Linked DNA regions of Homo sapiens: region 1 is linked to region 2. The links are contacts of gene promoters, found by promoter capture Hi-C in blood cells and fetal thymus (Javierre and others, 2016). All regions are on one chromosome and are shown on one strand. Each heading gives the region's core, a stretch centred on a gene start or on the middle of the fragment in contact. The rest is flanking DNA. Distances are from core to core; before and after follow the strand shown. Region 1 has its middle 75 kb from the start of TACC1. Region 2 holds the start of STAR (steroidogenic acute regulatory protein).

Region 1 (6,447 bases), core at 20-2,519, 560 kb after region 2:
AAGAGGCTGGGCACGGTGGTTCATGCCTGTAATCCCAGCACTTTGGGAGGCTGAGGTGGGTGGATCACTTGAGTTCAGGAGTTCAAGACTAGCCTGGCCAACATATAGTGAAACCCTGTCTCCACTAAAAAAAAAAAAAAAAAAAAAAAAAAAAATTAGCTGGAAGAGTTAGTGGGCACCTGTAATCTCAGGTACTCAGGAGGCTGAGGCAGGAGAATTGCTTGAACCCTGGAGGCAGAGGATGTAGTGAGCCGAGATTGCACCACTGCACTCCAGCCTGGGCAACAGAACGAGACTCTGTCTCAATAAATAAATAAATAAATAAATAAATAAATAAATAAATAAAGAAGAAATAAGCTTTACCTTGACACACACAAACACACAGCCCACAAATGGGAACGTACACCATGAATCCTATCTCAACCACCCTCCTCCTGGCTCATTATACCCCAGCAACCTCCTCTTCTTTCATTTCTCTTAAGCTGTTTCCTTCCCAGGACATTTGCACACATCAGGACAAACTCTGAAAGGCTTTGAAATGGGGGAAGAATTTGTAGGCATTCTGACTTACTCTTCCTGGTCATCTCCATCTTTCATTTTCTGAGCTAGAGACAACTCTGCAAGTTGTAGATGACTAAGAGCAATGTAAGGATTATTTTCCATATGCCAATACATTCTATCCAGCAGAGGGACAACTGCCCTTCATCCACCGAATTTGGAATCTTTGACATGTTCATTTCAGCATTCTTGATTGACCTATGTAAGTGTGGTACTTTGAATTAGCCTTTGAACCAGTTGTAAGATCTTAATGTTTCCCTCATTCATTAATGAGGTTAAAGATTAAATAAAAACTTTGACAGATGTTCATCTTATGATGATTCACCTGGTTTTTTTTGTTTTTTTTTTTTTGAGGGTCTTACTCTGTGGCCCAGGCTGGAATGCAATGGTGCAATCATGGCTCCCTGCAGCCTTGACCTCCCAGGCTCAAGTGATCCTCCTACTTCAGCCTCCTGAGTAGCTAGGACTTACAGGTGCATGCCACCAGGCCCAGCTAATATTTTGTGTGTGTGTGTGTGTGTGTGTGTGTGTGTGTGTGTGTGTGTGTGTGTTTGTAAAGATGAGGTTCCTCCATGTTGCCCAGACTGGTCCCAAACTCCTGGGTTCAAGCGATCTGCCCACCTCGGCCTCCCTAAGTGCTGAGATTACAAGCATAATTAGCTTCTTAAAGAAATGCATCCTTTAACACACCTGTTATGTGCTTCTCTCTCTCTTCATCCATCTCAGCCCTGCTCATCCTTCAGGTCTCAGCTTCAATGTTGCATCCTGGGAGAGGCCTCCTCTATTCTAGATCAGGTCTCTCAGATTTATTCTCTTGCTGGTCTCTTTCTTCACTGCACTTGTTACAGTTGATAATTATGTATTCTGTGAGCTCACTCATTCTGGGAATGAAATTACCCGTGATTTGAATCTCCTTCTTTATATTTTTCTTCATTTGACATGTTTCTATAATGAATATTTACACTTTTACAGTTTTTTAAATGTTGTCTTTAATCACTACTTTCAAAAGGAAAAGAAAAAAAAACTGTGGTATTTTTACTGTCAATTGCCCTTTGTAGTTCCAGGGAAGCCTCCCTCTCCAACTACCCCAGCCCACCCAGATTACTCCCGTACACAAACTCCTATTGCAATTCTATTGTGTTTCACGCAATTATACTCACCAGAGCATCCAGTAACAACATCACAAGCACCTGTGCTGAAAGCTGTAGGGGGTGGGGGGATGCATGAGACCCTAAAAAGGGTAAGTTGTGCTTCCTACTTTAGAGGAATTTATGACCTTATGGTGGTACAAGACATAGAAGAAAAGTTAAATAACAATGTGCAGTATTATTTAACGAAGCACCATAGCTTTAGATATATGTTCAGGCTTGGGTTTACCGAAGGCCAGAATGGTCATGCGGCCTTATCGTATGATCTCAGCCCACATGTTCGTTAGTCTTGTGAGTTAGACTAGGGTGCAACTTCACGGACGGCAGGACCACATCTTTCTTGGCTTCTTTCGTATAAACTACAGTACTGAACACAGAGCCCAGGCGCATAGCAGAGGCTTCTACCGATTGATTCACTTACTGTCCAGGACAACTGGCTGGGTCAGTTCTCAGCACATAGCTTCTCTGGGAGATAGGAAGCTTTACTGAGCCTCTCCTCACTCCAGCATAACGTGGATCTAGTCTTACCATGTAAGTGTCCACGTTGTTGAAAAGTGATAGGCTTGCAATGGTTGGATTCCTGCTGGGTCTGCTTGGGGAGGTGATGGAGAATCTTGCAGCAGCTGATAAAACAGAGAAGCCTGGGCACCTGGGCAGGAGATTTTTCTACAGTGGTGGAGCAGCAATGGCCACTTCCGGCAAGTGGTTCTATTCCAAGATCCCAGGGCTCAGAGAGCAGGAATGTTTCCAGGAAGATGGGCCATTGCTTAAACAGAAGCCGGAGATTAACCACGTTTACACACTAGGTTAAAATATCTAACTCTTTGGTCCAATCACAGGGGTGTCAGCTGTTGGAAAACAACCTAGTCCTAACGACCACCTCTAGTTCAGGAGCATTGAGGTCAGAGCTCTGCCATCACCCTGCTGTTTTGCATCATGCATAACACCTGCCTTCTCTCAGGCCTCCTTGGAAATGCTCCCCACTATCTGCAGCTGAACCCCTAGTATAGAGACATGACCCTGGCCACTTCCAGAATGGATTTACAGTGTAGCCACAATAAAATAAGGTGGACTAGGCCGGGTGTGGTGGCTTACGCCTATAATCCCAGCACTTTGGGAGGCTGAGGTGGGTGGATCACCTGAGGTCAAGAGTTCGAGACCAGCCTGACCAACATGGTGAAACCCCATCTCTGCTAAAAATGCAAAAATTAGCCAGGCATGGTGGTGGGTGCCTGTAGTCCCAGCTACGTGGGAGGCTGAGGCAGGAGAATCGCTTGAACCCAGAAGGCAGAGGTTGCAGTGAGCTGAGATGGTGTTGCTGTACTCCAGCCTGGGCAACAAGAGCGAAACTCATTCTTAAATAAATAAATAAATAAAATAAGATGGACTAGAGGAACTAGGATTGGAGAGGGAACTACTTTTAAATCATAATATTCTACATGTGGTATACCCTGGTTTTTTTTTTTTTTTTTTTTTTTGAGACCCAGTCTTGCTCTGTCACCCAGGCTGGAGTGCAGTGGCATGATCTTGGCTCACTGCAGCCTTGATCTCCTGGGCTCAAGAGAGCCTCCCGCCTCAGCCCCACAAGTAGCTGGAACTATAGGCATGCACCACCATACCTGGCTATTTTTTTTTTTTTTTTTTAGAGATGTGGTTCCACCTTGTTGCCCAGGCTGGTCTCAAACTCCTGAGCTCAGGCAATCCTCCCGCCTCAACCTCCCCAAGTGCTGGGATTACAGAAGTGAGCCACCACGCCTGGACTACCCTGCCTTCTTTAGGTGGTCTTAGAAACTAAAAATATGTTTCTCACTTTTCTGACCTCAAATTAGTTTGAACCTCCTCCTACATCCTTTTTTATTTAACTCCCCATTTGTACAATCTGACCCTCTTCATGAAATGAGACACCGAGAGGCTGATTATCTCTTTCTCTCCTCTCTCTCTGCTTTAGGAGGCATGCTTTCTCTTTAAGCCCGACATCAAAGCAGTAGCTATGTTGTCCTCCGAATTCTCTGTGATGCTGTTTTCAGGAAGGCCTCCTGGGTAGGGTGGAGCCGGGCCTAACTTATCGTGGTGATGATTCCTGCTCTGGAGGGGCATCACTGGGTCAGGATACCTGGGCATATAAGCCATAGGCACTGGTGGTGGCTGGGAAGGGCAGCAAGTTCCCTAGACATGGGACTCTCGGGGCCAAGATGGCTCAAGAACACTGTGGGGGGTCCTGTCTGAATGTGAGAGTCCAGAGTGTCACCAGAGCAGCCAGGTGTGGGCTGCAGCACCGGGGCAATTGTGTTCATTCCTCATCGTGGGGCCTCTCATCCCACCCCAGGACAGGATAAAAGAGTGTCATGGAAGTTTTGCAACTTGGCTGGATGATTTGCTCACCGCATGTGGGCCACATTGTCCTGCCCCTCCTGGCAGATCTTTGGCTCTGGAAGTGGTGTGGCACTCACTCCCCATCGCTGGCTCACTGCAGGCCTTCCCTCCTGGCAGCTCTGCTCTGGGGCCTGCCTGCCCAGGCCTGATTAATGCAGCCCAGTTTCCTCCAAAGATGCCTTGGAGGTGGAGGTGGGGGGGCGCTCAGTGAAGTCATTCTCACAGCCTAATTGACTGATCATTTTTATTTCTCCTTTGCTGTGGACTTCCTGTTTATTGCTCCTTCCAGCTTATGTGAAGCCATTTGCAGCCACATGATGTTTTAAGATTCTCTTTATTCAGGGATAGTCAAGAGACAAAACTGGAGTCTGCCTGGAAAAACAAAAGAGGCAATAGTTCCAGAGCATTCAGGCTCTGATTCCTCCGTTGCGGGGGTGGCTGCCGACTGCTTTGCCCTGCGATGTGATGATTGCCAGTTATTAAGCCTGTCTGGTGGAGCGGGGAAGCCAAGTGAGGAAAACAACAATAAAAGGAAATAAATGGTTCTGAGGGACTGAGAACCGTGCAGACCAGAAAACACACACATACACACCAAAAGAAAACAAAACAAAAAAGCTCCTGCACTCTGTTAAGAGTTCATAGCCAGGAGGATAAACACCACTTAATTTGCAAACGATTACCATTTGGAGATGATAAAAAAATTAAATATCACTGGAAGAAAAGTTTACACAGAAATTGCCAGATCCTGTGCTGGGAACATTTGTGAATTCCTCCCCAGCCGCCTCCTGGACAACAGTTCACGGCTAGACTCCACGGCATCTATTCCATGGCTGGTTTGGTTTAGTGGCTCTCAAACCAGGCCAATGTTGTTACCTTCTCCTTCTACCTCCCCCAAACATTTGGCAATGTTTGTAGACATTTTCTGTTGTCACAACTGAGACGGGGAGTGACGACTGCTAGCAATTTGGTGTAGAGGCCAGGGATTCTGGACAGCCCCTCACAATGCACAGGACAGCCCCCCACAGCAACAAAAATTTCCAGTCCAAAATGTCAGGAGTGCCCAAATTGAGCAAGACTGGTAGGAAGGTATCCAAGGGCAGAAAGGAAAACACAGAGTTGAACTGGGCTTGAGTTCTAGCTTTCTCCTTGGAAGAAGTCGTGGTAAAGGCAGGAGGTCCACCCAGGAAGTTCCAGACTTCCTGGAAACACACTAGGCCAGTAAGGTCTATGGAACTGTATTCTTGTCTTGGTATGATCAGGATGTCTCCGTCTTCTAAAATCTAGGTGAAGTTGGCTGGGTGCAGTGGCTCACGCCTGTAATCCCAGCACTTTGGGAGGCTGAGCCAGGCGGATCACGAGGTCAGGAGATCGAGACCATCCTGGCTAATATGGTGAAACCCCGCCTCTACTAAAAATACAAAAAATTAGCTGGGCATGGTGGCACACACCTGTAGTCCCAGCTACTTGAGAGGCTGAGGCAGGAGAATCACTTGAACCCTGGAGGCGGAGGTTGCAGTGAGCTGAGATTGTGCCACGGCACTCCAGCCTGGGCAACAGAGCGAGATTCCATCTCAAAAAACAAAACAAAACAAACAAAAACAAAAAACTAGGTGAAGACATGGACGCCCATCACTAACCAGCTAGTGGTCCAAATGCGTCCGATGTCCATGTGTGTGCAGCCACTGCCCTCTAGGGGCAGAATTGTGTGCGGCCGCTCACCATGGGTGTGTGTTTTGAGGCTGCACCATAAACCCTCAAGGCTCCTTCTTCACTCTAGGGGTCTAGGGGAAAGAGTCCTAATTGTATGGTTAGCTTTAGCTCTACCATTTGCTCACAGTGGCAAACCTCGTAACTTCTCTGAGCCCCAGGCGTGCCCTTTGTTCTTCACAGGTCATGGGAATCTCACGAAAGCATGGATGAGGAGACACTGTGTATTAAACCATCACACAAATAAATGTCCATTGCTGAGGCACCTCTGGAATCTGATGGTCAGAGATGTCCAATCATTAACAAATAGGCATTGAGGGCTTATGCACATGACGAGGTCCATGGTGGGCAGAGAAAGGTGTGATTTTAGATGGTGTAAATTGCTATGAAAAGATCATATGGGACAAGGGGACACAGAATGGTTGGGGTGGTGCAGTATGGATGCCACATCAGTTATTCAGGGTGGCCAGAGAAGGCCTTTCTATAAGCAGGTACCCAGGAGGCATGAAAGAAGGAACTACCCTTGGAACAGGGCAATAGGGGCCCCTGTCCTGGGCCTGGGGATTTGGAGGACCCCAACCACTCTGATTATTTAACACGGTTCAGACTCCAGGGAAACGCTTCTCCACCACCTTGTCCTAATGCTGTCAAGGTTGTGGGT
Region 2 (6,887 bases), core at 106-2,605:
CTCTGCCACTGTGGGCAAGACTTTCCTGTGTACCCCTGCTACAAGACTTGTCCAGCTCTGAAGGAAGGCAAAGTCAGGAATAGTTCAAGAAAGATGGCCAGGCATGGTGGTGCACGCCTGTGGTCCCAGCCACTCAGGAGGCTGAGGCAGGAGAATTGCTTGAACCCAGGACGCAGAGGCTGCAGTGAGCCAAGATAGCGCCAGTGCACTCCAGCCTAGGCAACAGAGCGAGACTGCCTCAAAAATAAAATAGGCTGAGCGCCATGGCTCATGCCTATAATCCCAGCAGTTTGGGAGGCAGATCACCTGAGGTCAGGAGTTCAAGACCAGTCTGGTCGACGTGGCGAAACCCTGTCTCTACTAAAAATACAAAAACTAGCCAGGCGTGGTGGCATGCACCTGTAATCCCAGCTACCCAGGAGGCGGAGGTTGCAGTGAGCCGAGATCGTGCCACTGCGCTCCAGGCTGGGCAACAGAGTGAGACTCCATCTCAAAATAAAGTAAGCCAGGTGTGGCGGCTCACACCTGTAATCCCAGCACTTTGGGAGGCCAAGGTGGGAGAATCCCTTGAGCCCAGGGGGTCAAGACCAGCGTGACCAATATAGCAAGACATTGTCTCTAAAAAAAATAAAAATAAAAATAAATAAATAAAACTAGCTGGTTGTGGTGGTGCACGCCTGTAGTCCCAGGTACTCAAGAGGCTGAGGTGGGAGGATGGCTTGAGCCCATGAGTTTGAGGCTGCAGTGAGCTATGATTGTTCTACTGTACTCCAGCCTCTGTGACAGAGACCTTTATTCAAACAAAAAAAAAAGAAAAGGCGGAAGAAAAAAAGAACGAATGAAGGAAAAGGGGAAGGAAGAAAGGAAGAAAGAAAGGAAAGGAAGGAGGGAAGGAAGAAAGAAAAAGAATAAAAATGAAAGAAAAGGAGAAAAAAAGATTGGAGTCCTGGAGGGGAGACCAGAAATTATAGAATCTGGAAGGGATATATCTTAGTAACCAGCCCACTTCTTCCGAGGGGAAAACTGAGATTCAAGAAGGGAAGAAACTTGCCCAGGTTCACCCAGTAAGAGGCACAACTAGGATCAGAATTGGGTGGCCTGAGCCTCATCCGCTGAGAGCTGGCCAACCCCTCATCGCCTCCTTCCCGCAGCGCTCACCCTTCATGTTGCGCATGTGTCTGTAGGAGCTCCCAGCGCACAGCTTGAATGTCGCTAGCAGCATTGTTTCCTGGCAAATGTGGCAGTGGTGGGGTCGCTGCCGCTGCTGCTGCCGCCGCTGCTGCTGCCTCTTCTCTCAAGGGTGGTTCTTCGTCCTTCCTGAGCCCCTCAAGCTTCGCCTCTGAGTCCCGCAGCTGCAGCCTGGACCTGGTGTTCTGCGTCTTAAATGTCCCCCGCTGAAGGCTGTGCATCATCATCAGGAGATAAAAACGCCATCACTCACTGTGCAAAGGAAGGGGTCAAGGATAGAGCGATTGCCTCACACTGCTGCTTTGGCCGTTTGTGGGGAGCTTGGGGCGGGGGAGGGTGCAGGGGAGAGTAGGGAGGACAGGGCCAGGCGAGGGATGGAGGGGAGAGAAGCAGGGGCAGCTTAGATGAAGGCACACAGTGGTTTTCAAGACTTTAAAGTGCAGATTTCTAGCCCTTGTCTTCAGAAACTCCAGGCTCAGCTGATCTGGAATTGAGGCTCAGAAACCTGTGTTAAAAAAAAAAAAAAAAAAAAAAAAAAAAAAAAAAAAGAAGGAAAAGAAAAGAAAAAAGAAAAAAAGAAAAGAAAAAAACTTCCCTTGGCCAGGCGCGGTGGCTTACGCCTGTAACCCCAGCACTTTGGGAGGCCGAGGTGGGCAGATCACTTGAGGTCAGGCGTTCGAGACCAGCATGGCCAACATGGTGAAACCTCATCTCTACTAAAAATACAAAAAATTAGCCGGGTGATGTGGCAGGCACCTGTAGTCCCAGCTACTCGGGAGGCTGAGGCATGAGAATCACTTGAACCCAGGAGGCAGAGGTTGCAGTAAGCCAAGATCGTGCCACTGCACTCCATCCTGGGCGACAGAGTGAGACTCCGTCATAAATAAATAAATTAAATAAATAAATAAATAAATACCCAGTGGTTGCAATGCAGGTGTTGTGTGGACTACACACTACACTTTGAGAACCACCGTCTCGCGAGAGTGAGCCAGGGTGTTTACCAGGCAGTAGAGACCATATGGCTGCTCTTCTTCTGGGTGAGGACCCTGAAGTCCACAGAGTGGAACTGACTTGTTCAAGGTCAAACAGCTGGCCAGTGGCAGGGCCAGGACAACAACCCAAGCCTCTGGCCTTCAAGCCATCTGTACACAGTTCCTCCTGCGGTCCCCAGGACGCTTGGTATATTCAACTGTCAATTTATTTACTCATCTATTTATAGAAACCACCTTTCCCAAAGTCCTGTTCCGAGTGAGGGTTCTTAGGGGTCTGTGCTGGAGCAAGGATGACCTCTCGTGGCTGAGTCGCGGGGGGGCGGGGGGGGGCGGGGCAGCCCTATCAGTATACGGCAGAGAGAAGAGGAGGGCCTGGGCCACGCCCACACCCTTCCTCACACTTTCCCGCCAGTAGCTTTGTCTGAGTGAGCTGGGCTGGGGGTCTTGGTATGTGCAGAAAGCTTGAAAAGACAGGGCATGGGCTGGGCACAGTGGCTCATGCCTGTAATCCCAGCACTTTGGGAGGCTGAGGCGGGCAAATCACAAGGTCAGGAGTTTGAGACCAGCCTGACCAACATGGTGAAACCTCGTCTCTACTGACAATACAAAAATTAGCCGGGAGTGGTAGCGTATGCCTATAATCCCAGCTACTCAGGAGACTGAGGCAGGATAATCACTTGAACCCGGGAGGCAGAGGTTGCAGTGAGCCAAGATAAAGCCACTGTACTCCAGCCTGGGTGACAGAGCAAGACTCCGTCTCAAAACAAAAACAAAAACAAAAAAACAAAAATTAGCCAGGCATAGTGGCAGGCACCTGTAATCCCAGCTACTCAGGAGGCTGAGGCAGAATTGCTTGAACTTGGGAGGTAGAGGTTGCAGTGATCTGAGATCACACCATTGCATTCCAGCCTGGATGACAGAGCGCGAGACTCTGTTGCAAAAAAAAAAAAAGGAAAAAAAGAAAAGACAGGGCGTTGGGGTGTTCACCCTAGTCTTTGCACTTTAGGGGCCCTGTCAGGCTGAGCAAGGCCCCACGAGGCCTCTGCATTTCCCACTCACCCTTACCCAGGCGCAGCACGTGCTGGGCTCTGACTCTGACGGAATCTCTTCCCTTTACAGTGACCTTGAGGCTGCTTTTAAGCCAGATTCACTGGGCAAGAATATTGGGAGTGGAAAAACTCACACTGGAACTGCCCCTGGCCCAGGCCCTGCTCCCTGTGGGAGGGAGTTCTGTGTCCTGCCACCACCTCACAGAGGCAGAGGGGAGCCCTAAAAATGGGGAGCAGTGCCGGGGCCCCATGCACTCTCGCTGTCTCCCCAACACCAGACAGGGTGAAAGGGACAGGATCTGCTCAGAGCCAGGCCTGGCACTTGGAGCCCATATAGAACAGGGGAGTCACCCCCCTGGCCCCCGATTTCCACCCCGGTGATGCAGTCGGGGAATCCTGTGAGCAGAGGCTGCCTAGAGGTACCCGGCCCCTTCCTCAAAACCTCCTCCAGGAAACCTTCCTAGACCATCCTGGTCTTCTGGAATGCTGGCTCCTCCCACCACACCCTTACTGTCAGTATCACTTGAGGGGCTTAGTTCTGGTCCTGATTTGTTGAATGGTTTGTATGTGTTTGCTTGTCTCTTCTGTGGAATTATCTCCCCAAGGCAGGTGCTGGGTCCACTTTCCCCCTTAAAAGCTGTCCCCACCCTCAGCACTCACCTCCAGCAGAGACACAGGGGACTCTTGCTCCTTCTCTATTAAAACTTTTTTTTTTTTTAATTTTTAAAAATAGAGACGGGGTCTTGCTATGTTACCCAGGCTGGTCTTGAACTCCTGGGGTCAAGCCATCCTCCTGCCTCGGCCTCCCAAAGTGAGCCACTGTGCCTGGTGTGCTCCTTCTCTATTGAGTGACCAACTGGGAAAGCAGCTAGGGGTGCAGGTATATCTTTAGACTCAGGAAACCTGCCTGAAGGCATTGTTTCCAGCCCTCAGTCCCCAAGGAAGACAGCAGGGCCTCTCCCCCGTCGCCAGCCTGTGCCTAGGCCCTCTACCTTTCAGAGAGGAGGTGCAGTGGATGAGCTGGGCAGGTGGGGTGCCAGCTCCCCCGGCTCCTCCCTCTGATCTGCTGGGGCATGTGCCTCTCCTGCACATGTGTGTCTGCAGGCCTGCCTCAGCGAGGTGGGGGGAGGGGGAAGGCGGTTATTATGGGACAGGCCATGCAGATGATGATCAAGGCCCTGCTGCTGCCTTCCTGTGGAGAATTATGGCCATTCTGAAAGGGGTGGAGGTGGTGTGGGAGACGGAGGATAGAGCCTATGGCTGTGGCTGATGTCAGAGGCTGCCATTGACTCCTGGGAGGGGGTGGTTGGGAGGTGGTGCTGGGTGACCTCTGCAAGGGCCAAGGCTCTCTCCCTCATCCTTTCCAGGCAGAATGACTCATTAACTCTCTCCATCCCTCTGAGCAGTAAAGTGGCGAGAGAGGTCTGGGAATTTCCTCTGGTTCTGGACCATCTGTATCTGGCTCTGCTTTTTGATGAGGGCAGAGCTTCCAAGAAAGGAGGCCAGATGACCATGGCAGGCCATGGGGGAGGAGAGCCAGGAGGCCAGCTCAGGTGGTGTGGATGTGCCATGCTGGAGAGGAAGGCCCCCAGGCCAGGCGAGAGAGCCAGGGCTTTGGAGCAAAAAAGGGGATTCCTTCCTTCCTTCCTTCCTTCCTTCCTTCCTTCCTTCCTTCCTTCCTTCCTCCCTCCCTCCCTCCCTCCCTCTCTCCCTCCCTCCCTCCCTCTCTCCCTCCCTCCCTCTCTCCCTCCCTCCCTCCATTCATTCAACAGTCCTTTCCTGAATGTCTCTATGTGGCTCTAAAGTTAGGACAATATGAGTTGAACCATAGACCCAGTATGGACAGTCGTAGAGCAGATGAGGTGTTTTGGAAGTAGAGATGATGGAACCTCTAATTCTATGGGGGAGGGAGGGAGGAATGTTACGGAAGGCTTCTGGAAAATACGAATGGGAGTTAGCTAGGTTTGTGGAGGGGGTTGAAAATAGAGAGTTGATGGGGTAAGGGTGTCCCAGGTAGAGCAGATGGCCAGCAGCTTGGAGGAGACTCTGAGGGCTGCGAGCTGGCTGTCAGGGGAAGCTTGGGCCATTCCACGTGGCCTCAGCCTCCCAAAGTGCTGGGATTACAGGCGTGAGCCACAACGCCCAGCCTCTTTTTATTTTCTTCATCCTCTCAGGTTAGTTATAAGGTTTAAATGAGGTAACAATACATCAATACCTCACAAGATAAAGTCCAGAATTCTTAGCACAATTCCAATTTGGCCATTCCAGTTCTCACCTGGATTCTACCCAGCAGTGCTCAGCTCTCCCTGTGGTGCCTGCTGCCATCCATCCTGTGCATACCTTCTCTGTTCCAGGGATACTTGCAGTGCAGTCTCCCCTCAGAGGCTGTCCTCTGTGCCTTTCCTCACCCTACTCTTTAATTAGAATCCAATATTTTGGCCCGGCATGGTGGCTCATGCCTGTAATCCTAGCACTTTGGGAGGCCGAGGTGGGCGGATCACCTGAGGTCAGGAGTTCGAGACCAGCCTGACCAACATGGAGAAACCCCGTCTTTACTAAAAATACAAAAAAAATTAGCCAGGCATGATGGCGCATGCCTGTAATCCCAGGTACTTGGGAGGCTGAGGCGGGAGAATTGCTTGAACCTGGGCGGTGGAGGTTGTGGTGAGCCGAGATCGCGCCATTGCACTCTAGCCTGGGCAACAAGAGCAAAGCAAAACTCCGTCTCAAAAAAAAAAAAAAAAAGATCCAATATTTTACCTTTTGGCCCCACCTTGATAAATATTTATCACAGTATAAATAAGACTCTTGCCAATTTCTCCTTGTTTTACTTTTTTTTTTTGAAACGGAGTCTCGCTGTCTTACCCAGGCTGGAGTGCAATGGCACAATTTCGGCTCACTGCAACCTCCGCCTCCCAGGATTCTCCTGCCTCAGCCTCCCGAGTAGCTGGGATTACAGGCACGCACCACCACACTTGGCTAATTTTTGTATTTTTAGTAGAGATGGGGTTTTATCATGTTGGGCAGGCTGGTCTTGAACTCCTGACCTTGGGATCCACCCACCTTGGCCTCCCAAAGTGCTGAGATTATAGGCGTGAGCCACTGTGCCAGCCCTTTTTTTTTTTTTTTTTTTTTTTTTGAGACAAGGTCTTGCTCTATTGCCCAGGCTGGAGTGCAGTGGTACAATCCCAGTTGACTGCAGCCTCAATCTCCCAGGTTTAAGAGATCCTTCCAGCTTAGCCTCCCAGATAGCTGAGATTATAGGTGTGCACCACCATGCCCAGCTAATTTCATTATTTTTTGTAGAGACAGGATATCACTATGTTGCCCTGGCTGGTCTTCAGCTCCTGGGCTCAAGCGATCCTCCTGCCTCAGCCTCCCAAAGCTCTGGGATTACAGGCATGAGCCACCGGGCCTGGCTGGGTTAACCTTTTAAAATCTCCTGTCTCTCTCTGTGAAAAGTGGGGCTAATAGTTGCATCTTAGCATATGCCTGGCTGCCATCTAGCAGTCAATAAATTTTAGGGTGATGGATGCTTACTCAACTTTAAATTCTGTTGGAGTCTCTTGTTTCCCCCCCTCACCCACCATTTCAAGCAGGTAAGCCCGACTTTTGATTTCCTTTCCCAGGAATTTTGGCAGAGAACATAGAGCATTTG

The links. The method cuts DNA at HindIII sites, captures the fragments that hold promoters and counts their contacts. A CHiCAGO score of 5 or more calls a contact.
Region 1: a fragment that was not itself captured here is called in contact with the fragment with the promoter of STAR in region 2 in 1 of 17 cell types (endothelial precursors); the score reaches 6.0 in endothelial precursors.

What each region holds. Positions count from the first base shown.
Region 1 is chr8:38,708,719-38,715,165 of GRCh38, forward strand. No RefSeq gene overlaps it. Among named protein-coding and RNA genes, the nearest start is that of TACC1, 75 kb to the right of the region's middle. RefSeq lists a silencer at 5,683-5,742. The HindIII fragment of the contact is 1,829 bases long and covers 356-2,184 here.
Region 2 is chr8:38,149,597-38,156,483 of GRCh38, forward strand. It overlaps STAR (steroidogenic acute regulatory protein), which reads right to left and starts at 1,356. Exons shown (of 7, transcript NM_000349.3): 1 at 1,159-1,356. The coding sequence starts at 1,222. It overlaps LOC105379382 (a long non-coding RNA gene), which reads left to right and starts at 6,743. Exons shown (of 2, transcript XR_949687.2): 1 at 6,743-6,828. RefSeq lists enhancers at 1,195-1,494, 1,843-1,875, 3,919-4,904 and a promoter at 1,329-2,644. The HindIII fragment of the contact is 1,310 bases long and covers 1,330-2,639 here.